2 separate regions of the Homo sapiens genome follow, and region 1 is linked to region 2. Evidence: promoter capture Hi-C in human tissues and cell types (Jung and others, 2019). All regions are on one chromosome and are shown on one strand. Each heading gives the region's core, a stretch centred on a gene start or on the middle of the fragment in contact. The rest is flanking DNA. Distances are from core to core; before and after follow the strand shown.

Region 1 (6,854 bases), core at 986-3,485, 260 kb before region 2:
TGGTGGCAGCCCTATGACTACGTAGCTCAGTATTCAGGGGGCTGGCTGTTGGCATTTGAAACTCTTTGCGTTCACTTTATGTTTCTGAGGCATATTCACTAATTATAGACTGCTTGGCAGAGCACCTGCCAAAATGTTTTATAAATACCACAGTAGCTGAGGTATAATCCCTCACCCAAAATTTACCTTCCCCCAGGATTTGGAGATCAAGAACTGAACTGGGGGGCTTTGGGTAGCAATGACTTAAACCGTCAGATGTGCACGTCCTTTTCCCCTTTAATTTTTAACATTGATTTGATCTGTGCTCTCCTTTTCTATAAATCCTGATTTTAAAGGAGTAAATCATATGCTTGGGGATTTTAAAACTTTTTTTTTAGTATATTTTAGAAGGGCCAAAAATAATAATATTCTTGGGGAGAGCCTATAGAAACCATTACAGATCATTAGACTAGCTTGTTTTGTTGTTCAAAATCTTTACTTTATGAAACTTAATGGAGTGCAAAAATAGAATATCCCTTGCTCCAGCAACAATTACAAAGACCTTTACAATTGACACAGATCTTTCCCCCCCGCCTTCCCCCTCCCCCGCCGACACAGAGCGCACTCTGTTGCCCAGGCTGGAGTGCAGTGGCGCGATCTCGGCTTCCTGCAACCTCCGCCTCCTGAGTTCAAGTGATTTTCGTGCCTCACCCTCCCTAGCAGCTGAGATTACAGGCATATGCTACCATGCCTGGCTAATTTATTTTTTTATTTTTATTTATTTTTTTGTATTTTTAGTAGAGACAGGGTTTCGTCATGTTGGCCAGGCTGGTCTCAAACTCCTGACCTCAAGTGATCCGCCCGTCCTGGCCTCCCAAAGTGCTGGGATTACAGGCGTGAGCCACCGCGCCTACCCTGACACAGATCTTATTGTTAATGTGATACAGTGTCCATCTTGTTCTTTTGAACAACAAACTTTTACAGAGGCTTCTTTGTGCCAGACCTGTGCTGTATGAAACAAGGCATGTTTCTCTCTCAGGGAGTTCAGGTCTAGCGGTGGCAGTGTGGGAACCTCAAGGGGGATTCGAACTTGGGTTACAATAATTTGATTCTGTCCTGAGTCTACTGGAGCCCAGCCACCCAGTCTGCTATGGCAGAGATATTTTAAAACAGAGTTTTGTTTCAAACATTCACATGCCAAAGTTTAAAAAGTTAATTTTGTCTACAGCATAGCATAGCTTGGCAAACCAACAGGAATACTCAGAAGTATTTTGCAAGATTTTGGGGTAAGGGAGGACAGGCATCTGCTAACTGAAAAGTGAAACTGGGAAAGCTTAAGGGTTCCAGAGATTATTCTTTGCATCTGAAATCCCTTACTTAGAACATGTAAAGTCAAAATTATTTCGTGGATTCTCTTTGAAGAAACTCTTAGAAAATATTTGCTTCTCAAGGCCTGGATTGTTAAGGTGTGGTATTATTCTCTGACACCACAGTGATGGGAAGATGGATAACGCCATTGAGCCAAGTGTTCTAAAACCCATCAGATTCCTATGGGCAGAGTAAATAATTGTAAAACAAGAAAACAGACAAAGAACTGAGTGTTCCTTTTCTCAAAGGAGATCATACAGCCAACTAGGGGATGTTGCTGGCCTTTTGGGGGTGGTGTTCTCCCCCTCTGGTAGAAGGTGGTTCAAGCAGTACAGGCTGGGTCTGTCTTGAGCCCATTGGTAGAGCTAGGTTACTAGAAGGGTGTAGACCCCCTTCGATAGAATAGAAAGAAGAAAGATGGCTTGGCAGGCATGTGGGGCCAGGGTGCATGTGTCCGATTTTCTGCATACTTTGGCAGTCGCTTTGGTTACTGCATGTGGCTGTGATCCAACCACGGGCTTAACATACTTTCACAGCCAATTCAGTTGAAAGCACTGGGAGCCATTGCACAATAAATGTTGGCCCCCTCCTCTACCCTTCCCCTTCTAGCATGTTTTACAAGATTTTGTTTTGTGACTGCCTTCTAGGATGGAAGGGTTTAATTTCAGAATATTTGCAATTAAAGAATTCCTAACGTCCTAAAGCTTGCTAATCACATGTGTTAACAAGGACAGGGTATTACCAATTTCAAACACCTCCAAGCCGCTTGGGGCACCCTCAGCTCATGACAGCGTGGGTTCTCTCTGAATTTGTTGGAGAAGCACTTCTGCAGTACAGAAGCAAAGGAAGCTCCATGACAAATGGGAAGAATTGCCATGTTAGATGGGCACTGGGAGAGACAAAGGGAATGTGATTTGAGAAGAGGGAGTTTCGTGTTTGTTTTTGTTTTTTTGGGGTTTTTTTTGCCTATTCTTAACCATGAGCAAAATCAATCTCATCTTACCGTGAGAGTCGACTTCCTGCTGGGCAATTAGTGGAGACTACTGTCCATTTCTTCTAATGCCATGACTGACTGACTGGTGTCCAGAAGCCATCCCTCTAATTAAGGTGTAGTCCCTTGGGATAGGCCTACTTTTCTTTCTTTTTTTTTCTTTTTTTTTAGACGGTGTCTCGCTGTCACTCAGGCTAGAGTGCAGTGGCATGATCTCGGCTCACTGCAGGCTCCACCCCCCGGGGTTCACGCCATTCTCCTGCCTCAGCCTCCTGAGTAGCTGGGACTACAGGTGCCCGCCACCACGCCCGGCTAATTTTTTTGTATTTTTAGTAGAGACGGGGTTTCACCGTGTTAGCCAGGATGGTCTCGATCTCCTGACCTCGTGATCCGTCCGCCTCGGCCTCCCAAAGTGCTGGGATTACAGGCGTGAGCCACTGCGCCCGGCCGGGATAGGCCTACTTTTCTTGGTAGATACTGCATGACTATCATTAGCTGGGTGTGGTGGCACACGCCTGTAGTCCCAACTACTTCGGCAGGCTGAGGCAGGAAAATCACTTGAACCTGGGAGGCGAAGGTTGCAGTGAGTCGATATCATGCCACTTGCACTCCAGTTTGGATGACAGAGTGAGATGGTGTAAAAAAAAAAAAAAAGGGAAAAAGAAAAGATACAGCATGACTATGGAACATTTGAGGCTTTTTTAAAAAACTGTGCAAAGTATTGCCCAAAAAAGAAAATGTTCGTAGGCTTTCCTCATGTTCTTTATAGAGCTACCTTGCATGCCCTTGCCTTCTGCAGTCACAATGGAATCCATCTAGTTGAGTGGTTCTCAATTAGAGGTGACCCCTGCCCCTTCCCAGGGGACATTTGGCAGTGTCAGGAGACATTTTTGATTGCCATGACTGGAGTAGGGGGCAGTGTGCTATGGGCGTCTAGTGGGTAGACCAGGGATGCTGCTAAACATCCTATAACGCACTGGACAGCCCCCCAACAGCAAAGAGTTATCTGGTCCAAAATAACAGTAGTGCCAAGGTTGAGAAACCGTGCTCTAGATTGTGCAACCAGAAAGAACATAAGCTTCGCTATCATCAGACAGCACCAGAGACTCTTTTCCTTTGTGTTTCAGTCTCAGTAACTGAGGAGTTTGGCAGCCTTGAATTTTCTTGACTTCTGCTTTCAATATCTGTACCGAGCTCATGTCTTTCCTCTAGTCATCTAGGTGAACAGACTGTCACTTGGGAAAGGTTTGGGGCCTAGAACTTGAGATCTCTTACTTGACTCTATCAGTGATTCTTTCAGCCCAGCACTCCATGATATCTTTGATATCTTTGGTGATATATGAGAGAGCTTGGTTGCCCTTGTAGACATTAACCCCAAAAGGTTAAAGTGTAAATACTTGGCAGACTTGTTACCTAGTAACAGATTTAATTATTAAATCAGCATTGGTTTTGGAGCCAGAGGATGTGGATTAAGACCCTACTTCCCGCCAGGCGCAGTGGCTCACACCTGTAATCCCAGCACTTTGGGAGGCGGAGGCAGGCGGATCACGAGGTCAGGAGATCAAGACCATCTTGACTAACACAGTGAAACATCATCTCCGTCTCTACTAAAAATACAAAAAAAAAAAAAGTTAGCTGGGCGTGGTGGCAGGCGCCTGCGGTCCCAAGCTACTCCGGAGGCTGAGGCAGGAGAGTGGCATGAACCCGGGAGGCAGAACTTGCAGTAAGCTGAGATCACACCACTGCACTCCAGCCTGGGTGACAGAGTGAGTGTCCATCTCAAAAAAAAAAAAGGAAAAGAAAAAAGACCCTGCTTCCACTGCTTGCTTGCTCTAGTACTTTGGACAAGCGTTCTAATCTGCCTCTCTGAACCCATGCATCAATCTATTCCAGAGGATGATAATCCTCTCCCGCTATCCTCAGGAAGTGATTTTAAGGATATTACAAAGGTAGAAGAAAAATATGAGTGTGAAAGAGCTTTGCAGGGTTAGGGCGAATTGTCATCAACACCTAAGTCCTTTTTGAAGCTACCGTCGTCCCTCACATGCAGGGGATTGGTTCCAAGACCCCCACATATACCAAAATTTGAGCATACTCAAGTCCTGCAGTCAGCTCTGTGGAACCCACATATATTAAAAGTCAGTCTTCCATATACATGGGTTTCACATCTCGTAAATTTTGTCTTTGATCCAAGTTGGGTTGAAAATAGTTTACATATAAGTGGACCCAGGCAGTTCAAATCCACGTTGAAGGGTCAATCATAATTTTTCAGTCTTTATGACCTTTGTAGATAAGATGCTCCATAAATCCTACCCACTACTCTAAAACAACTCCTTTTCAGGTTTTCTAGAGCCCTGACCACACTCTGGTGTTCTGAAGTTCTCTGAAACCTTTCAGGATTATGTGAGCTTAAACCATGGCGCTTCTGAAGCTGTATCTTTCCGTATTAGCATAGGGATATGTGTGTATTGTTCTTTAGGTAGAAGTAAGCTTTATAGATACTAAGTCCTTATAAATACACAATCACTGACTTGACTTGGGTCCTTACCCTCTCACCAGAGGCTAATTTCTCTACATGTGTCCCAGATCCCATCCCCTTCCAGGTTTCCAGGGACTTGCTCCATCAGTGAACCCTCCATTTCCTGACTCTTTGGGCTCATTCTCTTCCAGGCCTTTTCCACGTTTACGCATCTTCTCTCTGTCAGACTTAAAAACAAGCAAACAACAACAAAAACCTTTAATCTTAAATTTTACCTGAGTCAGTTGTTAACAAGGAAATGAGAGACCACTTTTAAAAAATTTCCTCTTGATTGCACATTATTGCCAGCTTTTTTTCTATTCCTAACTATCCCCCACATCCTTGCAACAAAGCTTCTCAAAGGAATTGGTTTTACTCTTTATTTCCATTTGTCACCTCCTACTCACTCCTCAGCATACTCCAGTCTGATCTCTGTTTCTTCCATGTCCCTGAAGTTCCATGTTGCTAAGCCCAGCCTTCCCTGACCTCATTGATTTCTCAGCATTATTGAATACAGAGCACTCCCTCCTTGAATATTCTCTTCTTTTGCTTTCTATAGTCCTTCATTCTGCTTATGCTTATTTTCTTTTCCTTTTCTTTTTTCTTTCTTTCCTTTTTTTTTTTTTTTTTTTTTCTGAGACGGAGTCTCGCTCTGCCGCCCAGGCTAGAGTGCTGTGGCGTGATCTTGGCTCACTGCAATCTCCGCCTCCCGGGTTCAAGCGATTCTCCTGCCTCAGCCTCTCAAGTAGCTGGGACAACAGGCGCATGCCACCACGCCCAGCTAATTTTTTGTATTTTTAATAGAGATGGGGTTTCATTATGTTAGCCAGGATGGTCTCAATCTCCTGACCTCGTGATCCACCCGCCTTGGCCTCCCAAAGTGCTGGGATTACAGGCATACACCACCACACCCGGCTAATTTTGTATTTTTGGTAGAAACGGGGTTTCTCCACGTTGGTCAGGCTGGTCTCGAACTCCCGACCTCAGGTAATCCACACACCTTGGCCTCCCAAAGTGCTGGGATTACAGGCATGAGCCACCACGCCCAGCCTATTCTATGGATTTTGACAAATGTGTAATGACATGTATCCGCCATTGTAGTATCACACAGAGTAGTTTCACTGTCCTAAAAATTCTCTGTGCTTCACCTATTCATCTTTCCCTCCCCCTTAACCCCTGGCAGCCCCTGATTCTTTTCCTGTCTATGGTTTTGTCTCCTCCAGAATGTTATATGGTGGGATCATTAATGTAGCCTTTTTAGATTGGCTTTCTCCACTTAGTAATGTGCATTTAAGCTTCCTCTATATCTTTTTATGGCTTAGTAGCTTATTTCTTTTTGTGCTGAATAATATTTTGTTTTCTGGACATACCACAGTTTATCCATTCACCTCCTGAAGGACGTCTTGGTTGCTTCAAAGTTTTGGCAATTATGAATAAAGCTATCATACACATCTGTATACAGGTTTTTGTGTAGATATAAGTTTCAGTTTATCTGGGTAAATACCAAGAAGCGTGATTGCTGGATTGTGTGGTAAGAGTATTTTTAGCTTTCTAAGAAACTGCCCAACTGTGTCTCAAAGTGGGTGTACCATTTTGCATTCCCGTCAGCAGTGAATGAGCTTCTGTTGCTCCACATCCTCACCAGCATTTGGTATCGTTAGTGCTTTGGATTTTGGCCATGTTCCTTTAACTGAAATTTTTATTTAGCTAATTATAGATTCACAGGGAGTTGAAAGAAAGCAATGTCATGTACACTTTGTCCAGTTTCCCTATGGTAACAGCATATACAGGTATAGTATGCTGTCATACCTGGATATTGATGTTGACATCATCCACTGATCCTACTTAGATTTCTTCTTCAGTTTTACATGTACTCATTTGTGTGTGTTCTGTTTTTAAGCCATTTTAGTTTTACGTTGAACACATTTTTTGAAATTCTTGTTACTTAATAAATGCATTCAAGGCTATAGAGTTTTCCCTGGATCTCACTTTTGCTGT
Region 2 (6,924 bases), core at 497-2,996:
AGTGTGTGCCTGTAGTCCCAGCTCCTCTACAATCCTGCCATTGCACTTCAGTCTGGGTGACAGTGAGACCCTGTTTCAAAAAATAATAAAAGTAGAAGATATAAGGAACCCCTGCATCCCGCCATCCAGCTTCAGCACTTACCAACTCAAGGTCAATTCTGTCTCATCTCTACCCCACCTGCTCACCAACAAGCCCTGGAATATTTTGAAGCAAATCCCCGATGTTACAGCAATTCATCTGTAAAGCTTTTGTATGTTTCTCCAAAAGACACTTTAAAAACATAACCACAAGCCAGGCGTGGTGGCTCATGCCTTTATTTCCAGCTATTCAGGAGGCAGGAGGATCCTTTGAGCCCAGAAGTTTGAGTCCATCCTTGGTAACATAGGAAGACACCACCTCTCAAAAAAAAAAAAAAAGGCCAGGCGCAGTGGCTCACGCCTGTAATCCCAACACTTTGGGAGGCCAAGTCAGGCGGATCACGAGGTCAGAAGATCGAGACCACCCTGGTTAACACGGTGAAATCCCATCTCTACTAAAAAATACAAAAAATTAGCCAGGCATGGTGGCGGGCACCTGTAGTCCCAGCTACTTGGGAGGCTGAGGCAGAAGAATGGTGTGAACCCGGGAGGCAGAGCTTGCAGTGAGCCAAGATCGCGCCACTGCACTCCAGCCCGGGCGATAGAGCGAGACTCCGTCTCAAAAAATAAATAAATAAAATAAAATAAAAAATAAAAAACATAACCACAATACCATATTAGTTCTCAATTTTTTTTTTCGAAATGGATTTTTGCTCTTATCACCCAGGCTGGAGTGCAATGGTGCAATCTCCGCTCACTACAATCTCTGCCTCCCAGGTTCAAGTGATTCTCCTGCCTCAGCCTCCCAAGTAGCTGGGATTACAGGCATGCACCACCAGGCCTGGCTAATTTTTTGTATTTTTTTTTAGTAGAGACAGAGTTTCACAATGTTGGCCAGGCTGGTCTCGAACTCCTGACCTCAGGTGATCCACCTGCCTTGGGCTCCCAAAGTGCTAAGATTACAGACATGAGCCACAGTGCCCTAAAATTTTTAACAATTCCTCAATATAGTCAAATATCCATTGTTCAAAAATATCCATTGTTCAAATTTCCCCAATATCTTTTTTTTTTTTTGCAGTTGGGTTAAAATTTGGCTCCAAACAAGGTCTGCACGTTGCGTTTTTGTGCTGTCTCTAAAGACTCCCTTCTTTTTTCCATGTAATGCTTTTGTTGAGGAAACCAGGCTGCTTGGAAGGATGAGCCTGGGGGAATTCGGGAGAGGGAGAGAGGGGGCAGGGAGGAGAGAAGGATGGGTGTCCAGATAGATGTGCCATCCATGCTGGGGGACACAGGCAGAATGTGGAGGCCTGTCTCCCTAACTGGGAGGGGAGGCCAGGGCTGCTGAAGGGTGGGGGCCAACCCTGGGCACCCCCCCTTCCCCTCTGCCGCATCCAACTGCTGGAAGTGATGGGAGACAGAAAGATGGCCTGAGTCAGGAGCAGGGGCAGAGCTCAGGTTGTCGTGGGGTCCCGCTGCCCACGTCAGACTGGAGGTGAGGGATGGGCGGGGCCTGACAGCAGGCCTGGAAGGAACAGGATGTCTATGCTGGAGATAGAGGGAGAGGACAGTGCCAAAACCCAGCTCCTGGCCAGTCCCCAGCTCCTCCCTGCCTGGCCCTATCCCAGGATCCCCTCCCCGGCCTCCCAGCTATGATCTACCCCGGGGCCCAGACTTCAGGCGCCTTCACGATGCCGGCGGTCAGTGGTCCAGGTCCCTTATTCTGCCTTCTCCTCCTGCTCCTGGACCCCCACAGCCCTGAGACGGGGTGTCCTCCTCTACGCAGGTTTGAGTACAAGCTCAGCTTCAAAGGCCCAAGGCTGGCATTGCCTGGGGCTGGAATACCCTTCTGGAGCCATCATGGAGGTGAGGGGCAGGGGTGGGGACCAGCTATGCCCAGGGTCCCTCAAAGTGCTGGAGGGGCTGTGACTTGGTGGGGAGTGGGTCTGTCACAGCCATCCTCTGTCCAGGGTGGGGCAAGGCCTGGGACAGTGCCAGGCACCCCAGGACCCCTTCCAGGCTTGTCTCCTGCTCCACCGCCTCAACACCCCCCACCCCTGCCCAAGCTGTTTCTCCTCTGCCTCTCTGCTTCCCTGCCCCAGGACTTCTCTCTTCTCCTCTGCCTCTCCTTGGACCCCTGCCCTTCCTCTACCTCTGACCTGTGAACACACAGACACATGCTCACACACTAAGTCCCAGGCACACAGAAGGCAATGTGGACCAGCACAAACCTCCACTCTCCCGGCTCCATCCCAGCGGGCCTGTGGCTGGCCATGAGAACTGGGGGCTACCTGGAGGGAAGCATCCTCATCCCAGGTGAGTGGGCACCAGCCCTTCCCTGTATGTGTGTTGTGGGTGGAAGCAGGCATGAGAGCATCTTAGCCCATAGGTTTGTATTCAGGGACTTCCAAACCCAGACCTACAAAGAGTGTGTCTTCTACCAGATCTTGTTCAAAAAAGGGTTTGTGATGATGGAACTACACGATAGAGGGAGTGAGCAAGAACAATGAGGATTAGAGTGGAGCGTGAAATAGTCTAGGAGCATGGCTTCCAAAACATATGCTGTGAGGTCTGTCCACCTGAGAGTTGGGCCATGGATTTAATTCTGAGCCTCTTAGCAGGCAAAGCAAAGACAGAAAGCAGATCGGCTGTGGATTTCTGTCTATAAAATGTGAGTTCTTGGCCAGGTGCAGTGGCTCACGCCTGTAATCCCAGCACTTTGGGAGGCCAAGGCGGATGAATCACGAGGTCAAGAGGTTGAAAACCATCCTGGCCAAAATGGTGAAACCCTGACTCTACTAAAAATACAAAAATTAGCTGGGTGTGGTGGCGTGCGCCTGTAGTCCCAGCTCCTCAGGAGGCTGAGGCAGGAGAATTGCTTGAACCTGGGAGGCCAAGGTTGCAGTGAGCTGAGATCCTGCCATTGCACTTCAGCCTGGGCACAGAGCCAGACTCTGGCTCAAAAAAAAAAAAAAAAAAGATGTGAGTTCTGAGAAATGGCACGATTCCTAACTAAAGCCAGGACAAAATATCCCTTTTTTTTTTGTGAGATGGAGTTTCACTCTTGTTGCCCAGGCTGGAGTGCAGTGGTGTGATCTTGGCTCACTGCAACCTTCACCTCCCAGATTCAAGTGATTCTCCTGCCTCAGCCTCCTGAGTAGCTGGGATTACAGGTGTGTGCCACCACACGCAGCTAATTTTTGTTTTTGTTTTTGTTTTTTTTTTTTTGAGACGGAGTCTCGTTCTGTTGCCCAGGCTGGAGTGCAGTGGCGTGATCTCGGCTCACTGCAAGCTCCACCTCCTGGGTTCATGCCATTCTCCTGCCTCAGTCTCCCGAGTAGCTGGGACTACAGGTGCCTGCCACCACCCCCAGCTAATTTTTTGTACTTTTAGTAGAGATGGGGTTTCACCTTGTTAGCCAGGATGGTTTCGATCTCCTGACCTCGTGATCCGCCCGCCTTGGCCTCCCAAAGTGCTGGGATTACAGGCGAGCCACCGCGCCCAGCCTAATTTTTGTATTTTTTAAGTAGAGACGGGTTGTCACCATGTTGGCCAGGCTGGTCTTGAACTACTGACCTCAGATGATCCGCCTGCCTCGGCTTCCCAAAGTGCTGGGATTATAGGCATGAGCCACCGCGCCCAGCCCAAAATATTCCTTTAAGATGATAGGCCCTGTCAGTAGGGTTTCTTCCAGTCCTCCTTCATAGAGACACAGGAGGTAACAAAAAGGTGGGCTGTTTCTCACAGCACCAAGCTGGGCCCTGCTTCAGGACCAGGATGGCAAAACTTATACAACACTCACTGCTATGGGCCTTGCCAAATCTGGGTGTCACAGATCATGTGAGGGAGCAGAGGCACCTTCTCCAAGATCACCCAGTGATGTGTGCATTGTCTGTTCATTCATTCGTTCACCCTGATGTTCCTCTGTGCCCAGCCCAGAGATACCAGGCAGAGTGAGGCTGAAGGAGCCCATGGTCTGGGGCAAGGTCTCACCCACAGGCCTTGTAAGGCTGAAAGCCTTCTGCAAGGATTTCAGAGGCAGTGACAGCTTCCAGAGGCCCTGGGACTTGTGGCCTTGCAGCTCTGAGCCTCCCTACCCCCATCCCTGGCCTTTATAGAGCAAACAGGCTGGATTAGCTGCCTCCAGAACGTCCTGGCAGAGTCTGGGCCCTGGGCCAGGTTCCAGGCTGGCAGGTTGGAGGGTGGGGAGCGAGCTCGAGTAGGGCCTCTGAGTTCCCTGCCCCCAGTTCCTGCCAAGACTGCCTCAGTTTCTCTCCCATTCCTTTTTCCTACCATGCAGGGCTCCTTCCTCCCCGCCCCACCACCGCCAGTGGCAATTCTCACACACATACTCCATCCTGCATTCTTTCATCGCAGTCCTGTGGGCCGGTTCTCACCTTCACATCTTTGCTTTCCTGCTTTCCTCACCTTGGAATGCCCCCTAGGTCCTGTCCACCAGGAAGCTCTGGCCTCATTTGGCCACAGCCTAGAGTCTTGGGCCTTCTTGCAGTTACTCCCTCCTAAAGTGCTCTCCTGTGTTCTGTGGTCTCAGGCACTTCCTTTTTTGTCACAAGGCCTCAGTTTCGTCATCTGAGAAATGGGAAGGGTTAGACACAAATCTCTCTCGTGGTGGAAAAAGCTTGTGCTTTGGAGTCATATGGAGCTGAATTCCATCCAATCCACTTAGTTCCTTAACTTTTATGAGCCTCACCTTCCTCATCTGTTAGATGGGGTCTTATAAAAACAGACAGCACACACTGCGGTGAGGCTTCACTGACGACGTGGATGGTGCTGGCATTCATTGCCCTCCCCAGCAAAGGCCCCTCCAGCTGTGCTGGGCTCTGACTCCTGCTTCCCTGGCTGGCCGCTTATTTAATGGTAGGCCTTGGCATTGTCGCCTTCTCTTCCGGGAGCCCAGCCCGGGCCAAGTGAGAGAGTGAAGGGGGAGATGGGGTGTAGTGGAGCCTGGGGCTTGAGCTGCCCTTGTCCACAGACGCCATCCTGGGCCTGGAGGAAGTGCGGCTGACGCCATCCATGAGGAACCGGAGTGGCGCCGTGTGGAGCAGGGCCTCTGTCCCCTTCTCTGCCTGGGAAGTAGAGGTGCAGATGAGGGTGACGGGACTGGGGCGCCGGGGAGCCCAGGGCATGGTGAGTGTCCTCTCCCAGAGCTGACAGAGCGGGGTGGGTCAGGGAGGCGGGTGATGAGCCCCGGGGTCCCAGTATCCCACACGGTTCCCTGAGCTGAGGGGCTGGGGACCTGCAGGCCGTGTGGTACACCCGGGGCAGGGGCCATGTAGGCTCTGTCCTTGGGGGGCTGGCTTCGTGGGACGGCATCGGGATCTTCTTTGACTCTCCGGCAGAGGATACTCAGGTGCGTAGTGGTCTCCTGCCTGCCAGCCCGCCTGCCCGCTCACACCCTCCCCCTCCCGCCATGTCCGCGGCTCAGGCTGCTTCTCACCTCCCTGCAGGACAGTCCTGCCATCCGTGTGCTGGCCAGCGACGGGCACATCCCCTCTGAGCAGCCTGGGTAAGGGCCTGTCTGGACTGACCACTCACCTCCATTTTTGCACTGGGAGGGGCCCATCCCCCCCATCCGAGCCCCTGCCCCAGCCTCCTCCAGCAGGGGGCCCACCCTGCCGGGCCGCCATACTTGCTGGACTCTCTCACTTAGCCGACGTCCGCCCCCCTGGGGCTTGATTCCTTCGACCCAGCAGCCCCAGGTGAAATGACACAGGCTGGGGCCTGTGATGAGTATCTTTGCTCCCATGATCTCATCCCATCTCCAACACCCTCCATAAGTGGGGGGTTATTCGTCCCATTTACAGGTCAGGACATTGAGCCCAGAGAGGGGAAGGGATGTGCCGTGCGCAGTGCTGAACTTTGAGCCCAGACTTACCCCTGGAGGGTCCTCGCCCTTCCCTGCATAGCTGTCCCTTCCCTTTCCCCTGATGATTTGGCTTCTGTCCCTCCCCGGCCCTACTGCCTCCTCAGTAGCTGGGCCGGTTTGTCAGTGTCTCTCAGCAACCTTCTCTCGGCTCATAACAATTAGAGTAATTGCCTGCATTTATGGAGTGAGCTGATTGTATGCCAGGCACAGCACCAAGCCCTTCTCATTTACTGTCTTAGTTAACCCTCATAACATTGTTATGAGGTCGTTCCAATTACCATCCTCGTTTTAGAGATGGGAACACTGGGGTTTGGAGAGATGAGATGGCTTGCCCAAGGTCACATAGCTCGGGGCACAAACCCAGGTGGCTGCTGTGGTGCTGGCTTCTCCCCTGCCCTGTGCTGCCTCCCTCTTGGCGGAAGGCGGCACTGTCAGACGCTCTGCTGTGAGTAGCCTGAGGTGTCCAGAGACACTCAGCGTTTAACACTCTTCTCCTGACTCCCCAGAGCCTGCCGAGCCGACCTGTCAGGGAGGCAGCCTGGTCACATTGTCCTTGGCTGCCGGGACATGTCCAGGTCATCCGTCCTGAGTCAGCTGCATTCTGAGCCCTGGCAGCTGGGAGAGGAAAAGGAAGCCAGAGGCACAGAGGACTTGGAGTTTAAAAGAAGGAGGAGGGAGAGGCCAGGCACAGTGGCTCACGCCTGTAATCCCAGCATTTTGGGAGGCTGAGGCGGGCTAATCACCTGAGGTCAGGAGTTTGAGACCAGCCTGGCCAACATGGTGAAACCCTGTCTCTACTAAAAATTAAAAAAATTAGCCGGGTGTGGTGGCGAGCACCTGTAATCCCAGCTACTCGGGAGGCTGAGGCAGGAGAACCGCTTGAACCCAGGAGGCAAAGGTTGCAGTGAGCCGAGATCGCGCCACTGCACTCCAGCCAGGGCAACAGAGCAAGACTCCGTCTC

The links. Contacts are between HindIII fragments. The study calls those that stand out against the background at their distance.
Region 1: a fragment that was not itself captured here is called in contact with the fragment with the promoter of LMAN1L in region 2 in 2 of the 25 tissues and cell types used here (dorsolateral prefrontal cortex and spleen).

The regions. Positions count from the first base shown.
Region 1 is chr15:74,546,588-74,553,441 of GRCh38, forward strand. The region is part of intron 2 of ARID3B (AT-rich interaction domain 3B); the gene reads left to right. Among named protein-coding and RNA genes, the nearest start is that of ARID3B, 8.8 kb to the left of the region's middle. The HindIII fragment of the contact is 3,774 bases long and covers 349-4,122 here.
Region 2 is chr15:74,811,089-74,818,012 of GRCh38, forward strand. LMAN1L (lectin, mannose binding 1 like) reads left to right here and starts at 1,747. Exons shown (of 14, transcript NM_021819.3): 1 at 1,747-1,941; 2 at 5,069-5,223; 3 at 5,339-5,446; 4 at 5,544-5,602. The coding sequence starts at 1,767. The HindIII fragment of the contact is 6,905 bases long and covers 1-6,542 here.